Linked DNA regions of Homo sapiens: regions 2 and 3 are each linked to region 1. Evidence: promoter capture Hi-C in 16 types of primary human blood cells and fetal thymus (Javierre and others, 2016). All regions are on one chromosome and are shown on one strand. Each heading gives the region's core, a stretch centred on a gene start or on the middle of the fragment in contact. The rest is flanking DNA. Distances are from core to core; before and after follow the strand shown. Region 1 holds the start of PMEL (premelanosome protein). Region 2 holds the start of CNPY2 (canopy FGF signaling regulator 2). Region 3 has its middle 6.7 kb from the start of TMT1B.

The links. The method cuts DNA at HindIII sites, captures the fragments that hold promoters and counts their contacts. A CHiCAGO score of 5 or more calls a contact.
Region 2: the fragment with the promoter of CNPY2 here is called in contact with the fragment with the promoter of PMEL in region 1 in 4 of 17 cell types (fetal thymus, naive CD8 T cells, non-activated CD4 T cells and 1 more); the score reaches 5.8 in fetal thymus.
Region 3: a fragment that was not itself captured here is called in contact with the fragment with the promoter of PMEL in region 1 in 1 of 17 cell types (M2 macrophages); the score reaches 5.4 in M2 macrophages.

What each region holds. Positions count from the first base shown.
Region 1 is chr12:55,963,734-55,967,649 of GRCh38, reverse strand. It overlaps PMEL (premelanosome protein), which reads left to right and starts at 1,608. Exons shown (of 11, transcript NM_001384361.1): 1 at 1,608-1,714. The coding sequence starts at 1,639. It overlaps CDK2 (cyclin dependent kinase 2), which reads right to left and starts at 820. Exons shown (of 7, transcript NM_001798.5): 1 at 526-820. The coding sequence starts at 641. RefSeq lists an enhancer at 1,050-1,129. The HindIII fragment of the contact is 16,386 bases long and covers 1-3,916 here.
Region 2 is chr12:56,313,733-56,317,648 of GRCh38, reverse strand. It overlaps CNPY2 (canopy FGF signaling regulator 2), which reads left to right and starts at 1,661. Exons shown (of 6, transcript NM_014255.7): 1 at 1,661-1,828; 2 at 2,407-2,519; 3 at 2,683-2,798. The coding sequence starts at 2,432. It overlaps PAN2 (poly(A) specific ribonuclease subunit PAN2), which reads left to right. Exons shown (of 26, transcript NM_014871.6): 26 at 6-713. The coding sequence ends at 40. It overlaps CNPY2-AS1 (CNPY2 antisense RNA 1), which reads right to left. Exons shown (of 2, transcript XR_002957416.2): 2 at 2,841-3,120. RefSeq lists enhancers at 1,308-1,457, 1,538-1,587, 1,088-1,676. The HindIII fragment of the contact is 5,570 bases long and covers 560-3,916 here.
Region 3 is chr12:55,673,069-55,676,984 of GRCh38, reverse strand. No RefSeq gene overlaps it. Among named protein-coding and RNA genes, the nearest start is that of TMT1B, 6.7 kb to the left of the region's middle. RefSeq lists an enhancer at 3,228-3,367. The HindIII fragment of the contact is 3,457 bases long and covers 38-3,494 here.

The DNA.
Region 1 (3,916 bases), core at 359-2,858:
GGGTAGGTAAGTAAAGCCGCCTGGTGAAGGTGAAGCAGGGAGACTGTAATGGAGGGGAAAAAATGCAGGAGTAGCCCCCAGCCTCCCCAGAGGGGCCAGTGAGGTTCAACTGCCATTCTTTGGAAAGAGGAGAGAATTCTAAGGTGAGGGTGGGGCAGTGAAGAGGGCTCTTCATTCAGAAAGGCGATTCTCGCCGGTTCCCACATAACTCCACTCCATGGAGAGTCTTGGACCTCATCTCAGAGACCTCCTTTCTCTCCCCGAGTCTGTAGTCGCACATTTGGGGGCACGATCCGGCTCAGTTTGGGAAGAAAGTTTTCCATGGATTCCACACCACCCTATACTCTCCCCAGGGAGTATAAGTATACTCTTCACCTTCTACTGGCCCCCAACCCACCTCTCCACTTCTAAAGAAGTCCCTCCCTGCTCTCTTCCGGTCCCTGGACGGCTACCCGCCCGTGGGGGGTTGGGGGGGACAATCAAGGAGGTCCCCAGTTAGGAGTCCCGGGTACAGAGGCCACTCACGTGTCCAGGCGGATTTTCTTAAGCGCCACCACCTCTCCCGTCAACTTGTTTCTGGCTTTGTACACAACTCCGTACGTGCCCTCTCCGATCTTTTCCACCTTTTGGAAGTTCTCCATGAAGCGCCAGCGAGTCGGGTCAGCCCGGCCCTGGAGCGGGGGCCTGGGAACCCTGCAGAAGGCGGACCCTGGCTCTCGGGGGCCGAGGAGGGGGAAACAGGGCCCAGTACCGTGGCCCCGGGTCGGGATGGAACGCAGTATACCTCTCGCTCTTGTCAATTTGGCCAACTTGAAACAATGTTGCCGCCTCCCACCGAGTTCCCGACCGCCACCAGAGGCCCCGCCCCTGCTTCCCGCGTTTCCCTGGCTCCGCCCCCAGGCCTTTCTATTGGTCAACGTCAGAGCCGGGGGGCGAGCCCAGCGCTCCTCCCCGCAAATGATCCCGCCCCAGGCAAGTTTGGTTCTTGGGGGCTAGACAAGTTTCTTCCCCGGTGGGGCGGCTGAACACTCTTCCCAAGTACCTGCTTTGGGTCCAAGTTTCCTACCTATGTCTCTAGTCTGTAGGGATTTCTTGATTTCTAACTCACTATTTTCACCAATCCTGGGGAAAATATGTATCGACCTAAGGTTAAATTCCACCTGGCCCAGGAGCCTCCTTTGGAAACCAGGAAGCCGGGAATCTCGTTGCAAAGGAATCCTGGGCCTCAGAGGAGTCGTTGCCTCTGCCTCATAGCATACCCCGACACTGTCTCTGTTTTGGGATGCAGGGTTCTGTTTCTGTCTTTTTGAGAAGTTCCTGGTTTAATTCACTCTCCCATGATAAACTGTTGTGTCTGGTATGTGTTACGCAGCTGCCTTTCAGTTAGCTCTTGCCCGGGAGTGCATCAAGATGAGAGTGACCCAGTGAAACCAGAAACTGTCATTGAGTAGCAGGATGGGAAAGCAATGTCTAGGGACCAGGATCCCTTTGTCAGTTTTTCCTTTTTCCTCTCCTCCGGCCCCTCCCAGGCCTTCTCTGAGGGAGAAGAGGAAGGGCTATGCAAATGAGCACCCTTTTCTTATATAGGGGCCTATCCCAGTCCCCCCAGTGCCTTTGGTTGCTGGAGGGAAGAACACAATGGATCTGGTGCTAAAAAGATGCCTTCTTCATTTGGCTGTGATAGGTGCTTTGCTGGCTGTGGGGGCTACAAAAGGTATGTGTGGATATGTGGACATGAGCAGGTGTGAACTTGGGGATGAATTCCCCCTGCTCTGGTTTCTGTCCTCCTAATGGGAGATAGCGGCAATATTTCAGGCGTCTCCCACTCATTTGATTTAGTGAGGATGTGGGCACCTGGGCTCCCTCCCTACATGGAGATTTGGGATTTTGCCTGAAAATAATCTCATATGCTTGGAGGGGCAGAAGGATAGAAGGTCTCTGTGGCACTGATTCTGAGGCTTCCTTGGCAGTGAGCTGGAGCACGGGCTCCAAAGGGGTGAAATGTGCAGGAGACTCTTTTAGGAAACGTCTCTTGGGGTAGGAGATTTAAAGTGGGGAGTCAGAGAATGTGGTATTGGGTAAGAACACTAAGGAGATACAATCCTCTCCTCTTGGGATGGGTACGGGTGAACACAGCCCAGACCTTTTGTTCTGGGGCTGGAGAGATAGGCAGAGGGGTCTCAGCTGAGCATCACATGAAAGGGCTCTGGGGGATTGGGCCTCGTGACAGGAGCAAGGGGCGGGGGTGGGGTGGTGAGAGGGTCTGGAATGTCCCGTGCTGCTCTGAGGAGAGTTGGAAGTGGAGAAAGAATGGGGTATCTTATGACTTCTCTTGTTCTAGTGGTGGGATGCTCAATAGATGATTCCAGATCCTCCCCCAGCAGAATCAACTAGGGTTACAGCACACATTAGAAAGGGAATGAGGCCGGGCGCCGTGGCTCACGCCTGTAATCCCAGCACTTTGGGAGGCTGAAGCAGGTGGATCACGAGGTCAGGAGTTCGAGACCAGCCTGGCCAATATGGTGAAACCCCCGTCTCTACTAAAAGTACAAAAATTAGCTGGGCATGGTGGCACATGCCTGTAGTCCCAGCTACTCAGAAGGCTGAGGCTGGAGAATCACTTGAACCCAGAAGGCAGAGGTTGCAGTGAGCCAAGATCACACCAATGCACTCCAGCCTGGGTGACAGAGCGAGTCTCCGTCTCAAAAAAAAAAAAAAAAAGAAAGGGGATGAGGCCCGGCACAGTAACTCATGCCTGTAATCCTAGCACTTTGAGAGGCTGAGACGGGTGGATCACTTGAGGTCAGACCAGCCTGGCCAATATGGTGAAACTCCATCTCTACTAAAAATACAAAAATTAGCTGGGCATGGTGGTACGCACCTGTAATCCCAACTACTTGGGAGGCCGAGGCATGAGAATCGCTTGAACCTGGGAGGCAGAGGTTGCAGTGAGCCGAGATCACACCATTGCATTCCAGCCTGGGCAACAGCAAGACTCTGTCTCAAAAAAATAAAAAAAGAAAAGAAAAGAAAAGAGATAAGGAGGCCGGGTGTAGTGGCTCACACCTGTAATCCCAGCACTTTGGGAGGCCGTGGTCATAGGATTGCTTGAGCCCAGGAGTTCAAGACCAGCCTGAGCAACATAGTGAGACCTTGTCTCTACGAAACGTAAAAAAATTAGCCAGGCCTAGGCCAGGCTTGGTGGCTCACGCCTGTAATCCCAGCACTTTGCGAGACCAAGGCAGGTGGATCAGCTGAAGTTGGGAGTTTGAGACCAGCCTGACCAACATAGAGAAACCCAGTCTCTACTAAAAATACAAAATTAGCTGGGCGTGGTGGTGCATGCCTGTAATCCCAGCCACTCAGGAGGCTGAGGCAGGAGAATCGCTTGAACCCGGGAGGCGGAGGTTGTAGTAAGCTGAGATCGTGCCATTGTACTCCAGCCTTCCAGCCTGGGCAACAAGAGCGAAACTCTGTCTCAAAAAAAAAAAAAAAAAAAATTAGCCAGGCTTGGTGGTGAGCACCTGTGGTCCTAGCCACTTGGGAGGCTAATGAGGAAGATGGCTTCAGCCTAGGAGTTTGAGGCTGCAGTGAGTGATGAACGTGCCACTGCACGCAGGGTGAGAGAGCAAAACCCTGTATCAAAAGGAAAGGAAAGGGGAAAGGGAAAGGAAAGGGAAGGAAGTTTCTGCAGGAAAGGGAAAAATGGGGTGAGGGTAGTTTTTGCTGTGCTGAACTATATACAGAAAGGAGAGGAGAGGGGAGGGAAGGGGAGGGGAGAGAGGTTTCTGCAGGAAAGGGAAAAATGGGGTGAGGGTAGTTTCTGCTGTGCTGAAATACATACATTATATCCCAGCCCTGCTTTCTCCCTAGATGTTTAGTGTCACAGATTTCTAGGAAGTTCTCCTTGATGTGA
Region 2 (3,916 bases), core at 412-2,911, 350 kb before region 1:
GACAGATGCAGCTGTCTTCTCCTCAGTGCTGGCGCTCTGACTACCCTTCCCAAAGAACCACGGCCCTCTCCCTTTACTGTTCTATAGCCCCAGAACTGGGAGATGGCTTCCTAAGTTGGCTATACCTTGTCCACTTCCAGTACTGGACGTGCTCAGGGTCTAGGGTCACAGATGGTGCTATTAATTGAACTGGAACACAGCAGAATTGTTGCAAAGGTTCTAGGAGCCAGATTCATTCCTTCTTCATTCTTTGCAAAACAGTGGTACAGACATGGAGTCTAGAATTGACCCAGATGGAAAGTAATTGGTATTCTTAATATCCTGGGTGACTAATATCCAGGCAGAGAAGCTCCTGGAACCATAACTGTAAGTTCCTAGCTGGCTAGGGATTGAAGTCCTGGACAGTGACAGAGGATACCACAGTAGTTCAAGACTTAGCACAAGTCACCAACTGCTTCAGGGATACCTGGAGGGGCCAGCAAGTAGAGTGTTGGTGGCCCAAGCAAACCAGTGTTGCCAATACCATTGCCAAAAGGGCCTTTGGATCCTGGACAAAGCTTGGCTGCCGGCTTCATTTATTCCTGCTGATGGCTGAGAAGCATCTGTCTTCCATCCCACTTGCCTGTCCCAAGTTTTGTTCCATTTTTTAAAAATTTGTTGTAAACTGCATGTTTTATAAAATAAAAATAAAATATCGTTTGTTATTTATCTCATTAGAGAACTGCTAGTGTGGGTTCTCTGGCTTCAGTCTTCCTCTCCTTCCTTTGAAGGTAAAGGTCCGGAATCCAAAGTTATGGATATGAAAGGGTATAATTAGGCCGGGCGCGGTGGCTCACTTCTGTAATCCTAGCACTTTGGGAGGCAGAGGTGGGTGGAACACGAGGTCAGGAGTTAAAGACCAGCCTGACCAAGATGGTGAAACCCCGTCTCTACTAAAAATACAAAAATTAGCTGGGAGTGGTGGATGGCGACTGTAACCCTAGCTGAGGCAGAAAATTGCTTCAACCCGGGAGGCGGAGGTTGCAGTGAGCCGAGATCACGCCACTGTATGCCAGCCTGGGCGATAGGGCGAGACTCCGTCTCAAAAAAAGGGGAAAAAGGTATAATTTATGCCTTTTCTGGGCAATGCTGGGTCTTTGCTATAGCTGCCCAGTACCCTAAGTCAGACTGAAGATGTACAGTATGGTTTCCGTTAATTGTGTAAGCCGACAAACTACAGGTCCCAGGATAGCTTGAGACTTGTAGTTGCTCACAAAGATGGGTCCGGTGCTGCGGTGCTTCCTGGGAGATGTAGTTTCCTGTGTATTGAAACCTGGACTGCTCGCTGGCCGGCAGCGCACCGTTTTGAAGGTCCTAGCCCACCTGGGCTGGCTCACGCGCACGACTAGCCGCTCCCATACAGCACGCCCGGACTCTGTCGTCGCTTAAGGCCACTCCTATTCTACGGCTGACCCCTGGTGGTCACGTGGATCTGTTCGCCACGCAAGTCTGGGTCCTTCGGCGATTGACCGGGGTCCTTGCTGTTCGGGAGCCTCTCCTAAGCTGCCTGTTCGCGCGAGAGTTTGGAGGGGCGGGTTTGGGGTCGGTGTCTGATTGGGGCTCGCACCGCAGCACGCTGGAGTCCCGCTTAGGTACCAGTTAGCGTCAGGGGAGCTGGGTCAGGCGGTCGCCGGGACACCCCGTGTGTGGCAGGCGGCGAAGCGCTCTGGAGAATCCCGGACAGCCCTGCTCCCTGCAGCCAGGTGTAGTTTCGGGAGCCACTGGGGCCAAAGTGAGAGTCCAGCGGTCTTCCAGCGCTTGGGCCACGGCGGCGGCCCTGGGAGCAGAGGTGGGACGGATGCGGGCGGCGAGGCGCTGGGCGCTGAGGGTTGGGGATGGACTGAAGCGAAAGCAATGGCGGAGTCCTTAGAAAGGGGGCTGGTGTCCGTACGGGTAATCACTTACGGGCTGGAGGTGGGGACGCAGGAATCTTCGGTGCAGGATCCAAATGGGCCCTAGTTATTGCTCTCCTCGCTGGCCTCCTGGCCTGACTGAGGGCTCCCTGCCGGCAGTTCCCTAGTGCCTGTAGTCCTCACGTAATCGCCAACTTACCTCCTGTAGCTGCCACAAAGCCCCGTGAACCCTAGGCATGCAGTGCTAAAGTACCAACACTTAGGGCCTCACCTATCCACGTAGAGTCTGGGGCTGAGCCGCAAGTCCTGAGCTCGCGCTCCCACCCACCACCCTGGGGGAATCAGAGCCCTCAAGCGCTGGAACAGAGAAGCCCCTTTGTGTCCCGGCCATTTCCTGGAAAGTAGAGCCAGAGTCACAATGAGGCCTTTGAAAGCCTTGGGGTGAGGATTGGGGGGGTCAGGGAAAAATGGAGTCGGCTCCTCACACTTATGTTTTATTCCCACTCAAACCCAGGTGGAGCGACCCCATTACGCTAAAGATGAAAGGCTGGGGTTGGCTGGCCCTGCTTCTGGGGGCCCTGCTGGGAACCGCCTGGGCTCGGAGGAGCCAGGATCTCCACTGTGGAGGTAAAGGCACAACGGGAAAAAGAAGTGGAGGAAGCAGAGCCTTGGGAGGGCATGAGATCCAAGGCCTGGGAGAAGGATGAATGGAAATCCTGGGTTGATCCCATTCTCCTCACACCCTACCCCCTACCCTGTCCCCTGCTCTCATTCTCTCCTCTTCCACCAGCATGCAGGGCTCTGGTGGATGAACTAGAATGGGAAATTGCCCAGGTGGACCCCAAGAAGACCATTCAGATGGGATCTTTCCGGATCAATCCAGATGGCAGCCAGTCAGTGGTGGAGGTAACTGTTACTGTTCCCCCAAACAAAGTAGCTCACTCTGGCTTTGGATGAAATTCGACTGCTTAAAAAGGACCTTGGTTTAATAGAAATGAAGAAAACAGACTCAGAAAAAAGATTTGGCTCTGTCTCATTTGGAAGAAGCTGCAGGCTTATTCCCCATGCACTTGCTTCCTGGCTGCAAACCTTAATACTTTGTTTCTGCTGTAGAATTTGTTAGCAAACAGGGAGTCCTGATCAGCACCCTTCTCCACATCCACATGACTGGTTTTTAATGTAGCACTGTGGTATACATGCAAACATCCGTTCAAAATCTGAGTCGGAGCTAAAAATAAAAAATGAAAAAACAGAAATAAGAATAAAAGGTCTTATCCTCATAATTAGGAAATTTTAATCGAAAACAACACACATGTACACAAAGGTGTATCTAATAAGCAATATATAAGGCAGTGTTAAGATTACAGTGCTAGCCTGGGCATCATGGCAAAACACCAACTCTACAAAAAAATGCAAAAGTTAGCAGTGCATGGTGGCATGTGCCTGTAGTGACAGCTGCTTGGAAGGCTGAGGTGGGAGGATCACTTGAGCCCAGGAGGTCGAGGCTGCAGTAAGCCGTGATTGTGCCACTGCACTCCAGCCTGGGAAACACAGCAAGACCCTGTCTCAAAAAAAAACCAAAACCCAGCACTTTGGGAGGCCAAGGCAGGCGGATCACCTGAGGTTAGAAGTTCGAGACCAGCCTGGCCAACATGGTGAAACTCCGTCTCTACTAAAAATACAAAAAAGTAGCCAGGCGTGGTGGCTCATGCCTATAGTCCCAGCTACTCAGGAGGCTGAGGCAGGAGAATCACTTGAACCCAGGAGGCAGAGGTTGCAGTGAGCCAAGATCGCACCACTGCACTCCAGTCTGGTTGACAAGAACAAAACTCTGTCTTGAAAAAAAAAAAAGGCCGGGCGCGGTGGCTCACGCCCGTAATGCCAGCACTTTGGGAGGCTGAGGTGGGCAGATCACAAGGTCAGGAGATCGAAACCATCCTGGCTAACATGGTGAAACCCCGTCTCTACTAAAAATACAAAAAATTAGCCGGGCGTGGTGGTGGGTGCCTGTAGTCCCAGCTACT
Region 3 (3,916 bases), core at 517-3,016, 290 kb after region 1:
ATAGCCTAGCTGTATAGTAGGCTACACCATCCAAGCTTGTGTAAGGACACTCTATGATGATGTTCCCGTAATGGTAAAATCACCTAACGATGCATTTCTCGGAACTTATTCCTGTTGTTAAGCAACATATGACTTAACATGTGACTGTATATTCAGAGTTGTGCAACCAGCCACCACAATCAATTTTAGAACATTTTCGTTACCCCAAAAGAAACTTGTGCTTTTACCACTTACTCCCATTTCCCCCATCCCCATCCCAACCCCAGTACCATCAATTTCCTTTCCGTAGGCAATCACTACTCTACTTATGTCTGTATGGATTTACTTATTCTTGACATTTCATGTAATTGGAATCATACTACATGTGGCCTATGTGACTGGCTTTTCACACAGCATAATGCTTCCAAAGTTTACACATGTTGTAGCATGTATCAATACTTCATTCCTTTTACGTCCAAGTAGCATTGCATTGTACAGATATGCCACATTTTGTTTATTTATTCAACAGTTGATAGACATTTGGGTTGTTTCCACTTTTGGGGTACTATAAACAATGCTGCTATGAATTCTTGTCTTCATTTTATCTTTCTTTCTCCTAAATCATTAATCTCTGCCTTTCCATGGATCTTTCAAAATATGAATATGCTCTAATATATTTCAGGTTAATAATAAACTGACCCTCTTGACACCACATGTCACTTTAGCTAAAACTCCATTTTACAAATCTATGTCAAAGTCTTTTTTTTTTGGCAGGATCTTGCTCTGTTGCCTAGGCTGGAGTGCACCATTCTGACTCACTGCAGCCTCAAACTCCTGGGGTTGTGCTGCCCTTCCTGCTTCAGCCTCTTGAGTAGCTAGGACTATAGGTGCATACCACCATGCCTACTAACTTTTAAAAATTTTTGTAGAGACAGGGTATCTCTCAGGGTTGCCCAGGCTGATCTTGAACTCCTGGCCTCAAGCCATCCTCCTGTCTTGGTCTCCCAAAGTGCTGGGATTACAGGCGTGAGCTACTGTGCCAAGCCCAAGAAATTTTTATTAGTGATGGATTGGAGTGGGAGAAAGAGTGAATGGAAGGTGAGGAAACCAAGATAACACGAGCAGATGACTCAAGAATTATGACTTTGGGCGGGCGTGGTGGCTCGTGCCTGTAATCCAAGTACTTTGGGAGGCCGAGAGGAAATGACTGCTTGAGCCCAGGAGTTTGAGACCAGCTTGGGCAACATAGGCTGTTGTTTTTCTCTACAAAAAATAAAAAAATTAGCCAATTAGCCGGGTGTGGTGGCATGCGCCTGTAGCCCCAGCTACTTAGGAGGCAGAGGCAAGGGGATTGCTTGAGCCTGCAAGTTCAGGGTTACAGTGAACCATGACTGGGTCAGTGTACTCCAGCCTGGGAGACAGAGAGAGACCCTGTCTCTAAAAACAAAACAAAACAAAACAAAGAAACCCGAAACTATTATTATCAAGCCTATTAATTATTTCCACATGCCAGGTCCAGTGAATATTCCCTGTTCTCATCTTATCTGACTTTTCAACAGCTTCAGAAATAGTTGGCTACTATTTCTTCTTGAAAAATTCTCTCATCTAGGCTGTCCTAACATAACAGTCTTCTTGTTTCTATAACATTCCCGTGGCTGTTACTTCTTAGAAACTTCTTTTTTTAGATCTTTCTCATCTACTCGACCTTTAAATTTTGTTTCTTTGGGTTTAGTCTTGGGTCTTTCTCTGTCTAAATTCTCTCATTAAATAACCTCATCTTTTTTTTTTTAATATAGACTTTATTTTTTAGAGCAGTTTTAGCTTCATAGAAAAGTTGAGGAAAGTACAGAGATTTTCCACATACCCTTTGTCCTCACACATGACTAGCCTTCCTCATTATCAGTATCCCCCACCAGAGTGGACATTTATTACAATTGATGAACCTACATTGACACATAATTTTCACCAAATCCCATCCATTTTCATGGTTTAAAATGCCATGTATATGCAAATTATTCACACATTTATATCTTTAGTGCAGATCCTTCCTTTGAGTTTCAAATTTGTATACCCAGTTGTGTACTTGATCCTCCTCCTCAGCATATCTTCTGGACATATAAAACTTAACATGTCCAAAATGACACTTACGGTACTCCCCAAGTCTCTTGTCTTACTCTGCCCATCTTCTTCATCATCTCAGTGAATGGCACCATTAGCTTCTTGATTGCTCAACCAAAAACCTAGGATTTATTCTATTTCTTCTCTGTCTCCTCCTTTTCTTTTCTCATTTCTAACTTTGTATAATGGAGAATTTTGAATATACACAAAAGTTGGCAGAACAGTATAAGATACCCCCATGTATACATCATTCATCCCAACAACTATCAACCCACAGCCAATCCTTCCCCATCCACATCCTTTTCTACTTTCTGCTTCCTTCTCCTGTGTGTCATTTTGAAGCAAATCCCAAACATCATGTCATTTCATCTCCATCTGTATCTCTCTATAACATATATATGACTTTCTTTTCTTTTCTTTTTTTTTGAGGCAGAGTCCCGCTCTTTTGCTAGGCTGGAGTGCAGTGGGGCGATCTCGGCTCACTGCAACCTCCGCCTCCTGGGTTCAAGCAATTCTCCTGCCTCAGCCTCCTGAGTAGCTGGGACTACAGGCACGCACCACCACACCCAGCTAATTTTTGTATTTTTAGTAGAGACAGGGTTTCACCATGTTGACCAGGATGGTCTCGATCTCTTGACCTCGTGATCTGCCTGCCTTGGCCTCCAAAAGTGCTGGGATTACAGGTGTGAGCCACCGCGCCCGGCCAATATATATATAACTTTCAAGTTACTCACAAGTCCTGTCAGCTCTATTTCCCAGTTCATTAATTTCATGCATTTCTTTCATCTCCACTGGCATAACCCTAGACCAGATCATGACCCTCCGCTGCCTGGCCCACTGCAAGGGCCTCATTAACTGTCTCTCCACTTTCACCCACTGCTTAAAACCTTTTAGTGGATTCCCATTATCTTTGGTACAAAATCTGAACTCCTTACTGTAGCCCATAAGGCCCTGTGTGATCTGGCCCCTGTCCACCTCTCATGCTACCCTCCCTTAACCCTGTGTTTTAGCTATACAATCTTCTTTCAGTTCCTCATACTCTCACTCCTTTTAGCTTCAGTGCTGTTGAGCTTGTCTTCCTCTTCCTGATATGCTTGCTTTCTTTTCAGCAGTCCCTCCTCCCTCCTGCCTAGTTAATTTTTTAACTCATTGTTTGGTTCTTGTATCAAGCATCCCTTCCCTTATTCATTTTGGTCAACAGCCCTTAGGCCAGTTTGTGATACTGTTCATGACTGTTATTATGGTATTAGTGTCTGCCCATGAGCTCCATAACAGTAAGGATTGTGTCCTTTTCCCTTATCACCACGTGTTTAGCATCTAGCATGTGCCTGGCAAGTAGTAGACACTAAAAATGTGTATGTCAAATAGATGATGAATACCTTTATCACATTTAAGCTTTTAAATTTTTCTATATTTTAATTTAATTTTATAGATGGTGTATCACTCTGTTGTGTAGGCTGGAGTGCAGTGGCTATTCATATGTGTGATTACAGCACTGTGGCCTCGAACTCCTGCCCTCAAGGGATCCTCCTGCCTCAGCCTCCTGAGTACCTGGGACTACAGGTGTGCACCACCAGGCCTGGCTTGTCTATATTTTAAAATTGGCTGTCTCCTCTAGCATGTTAGCTCTACAATGCCAGAGTATATTTTTCTCTTCATGGTAATATCTTCAGGGCCATTTCTAGTGCCTGTTTCAGGGACCACTCAATACACATTTAGTAGATGTATTAATGAAAGGTCCATATCATTGAGAAAGGACCCATATCATTGAGAAAGGACCCATATCATTGAGAAATGTCTATGTCATTGAGGATCTTAT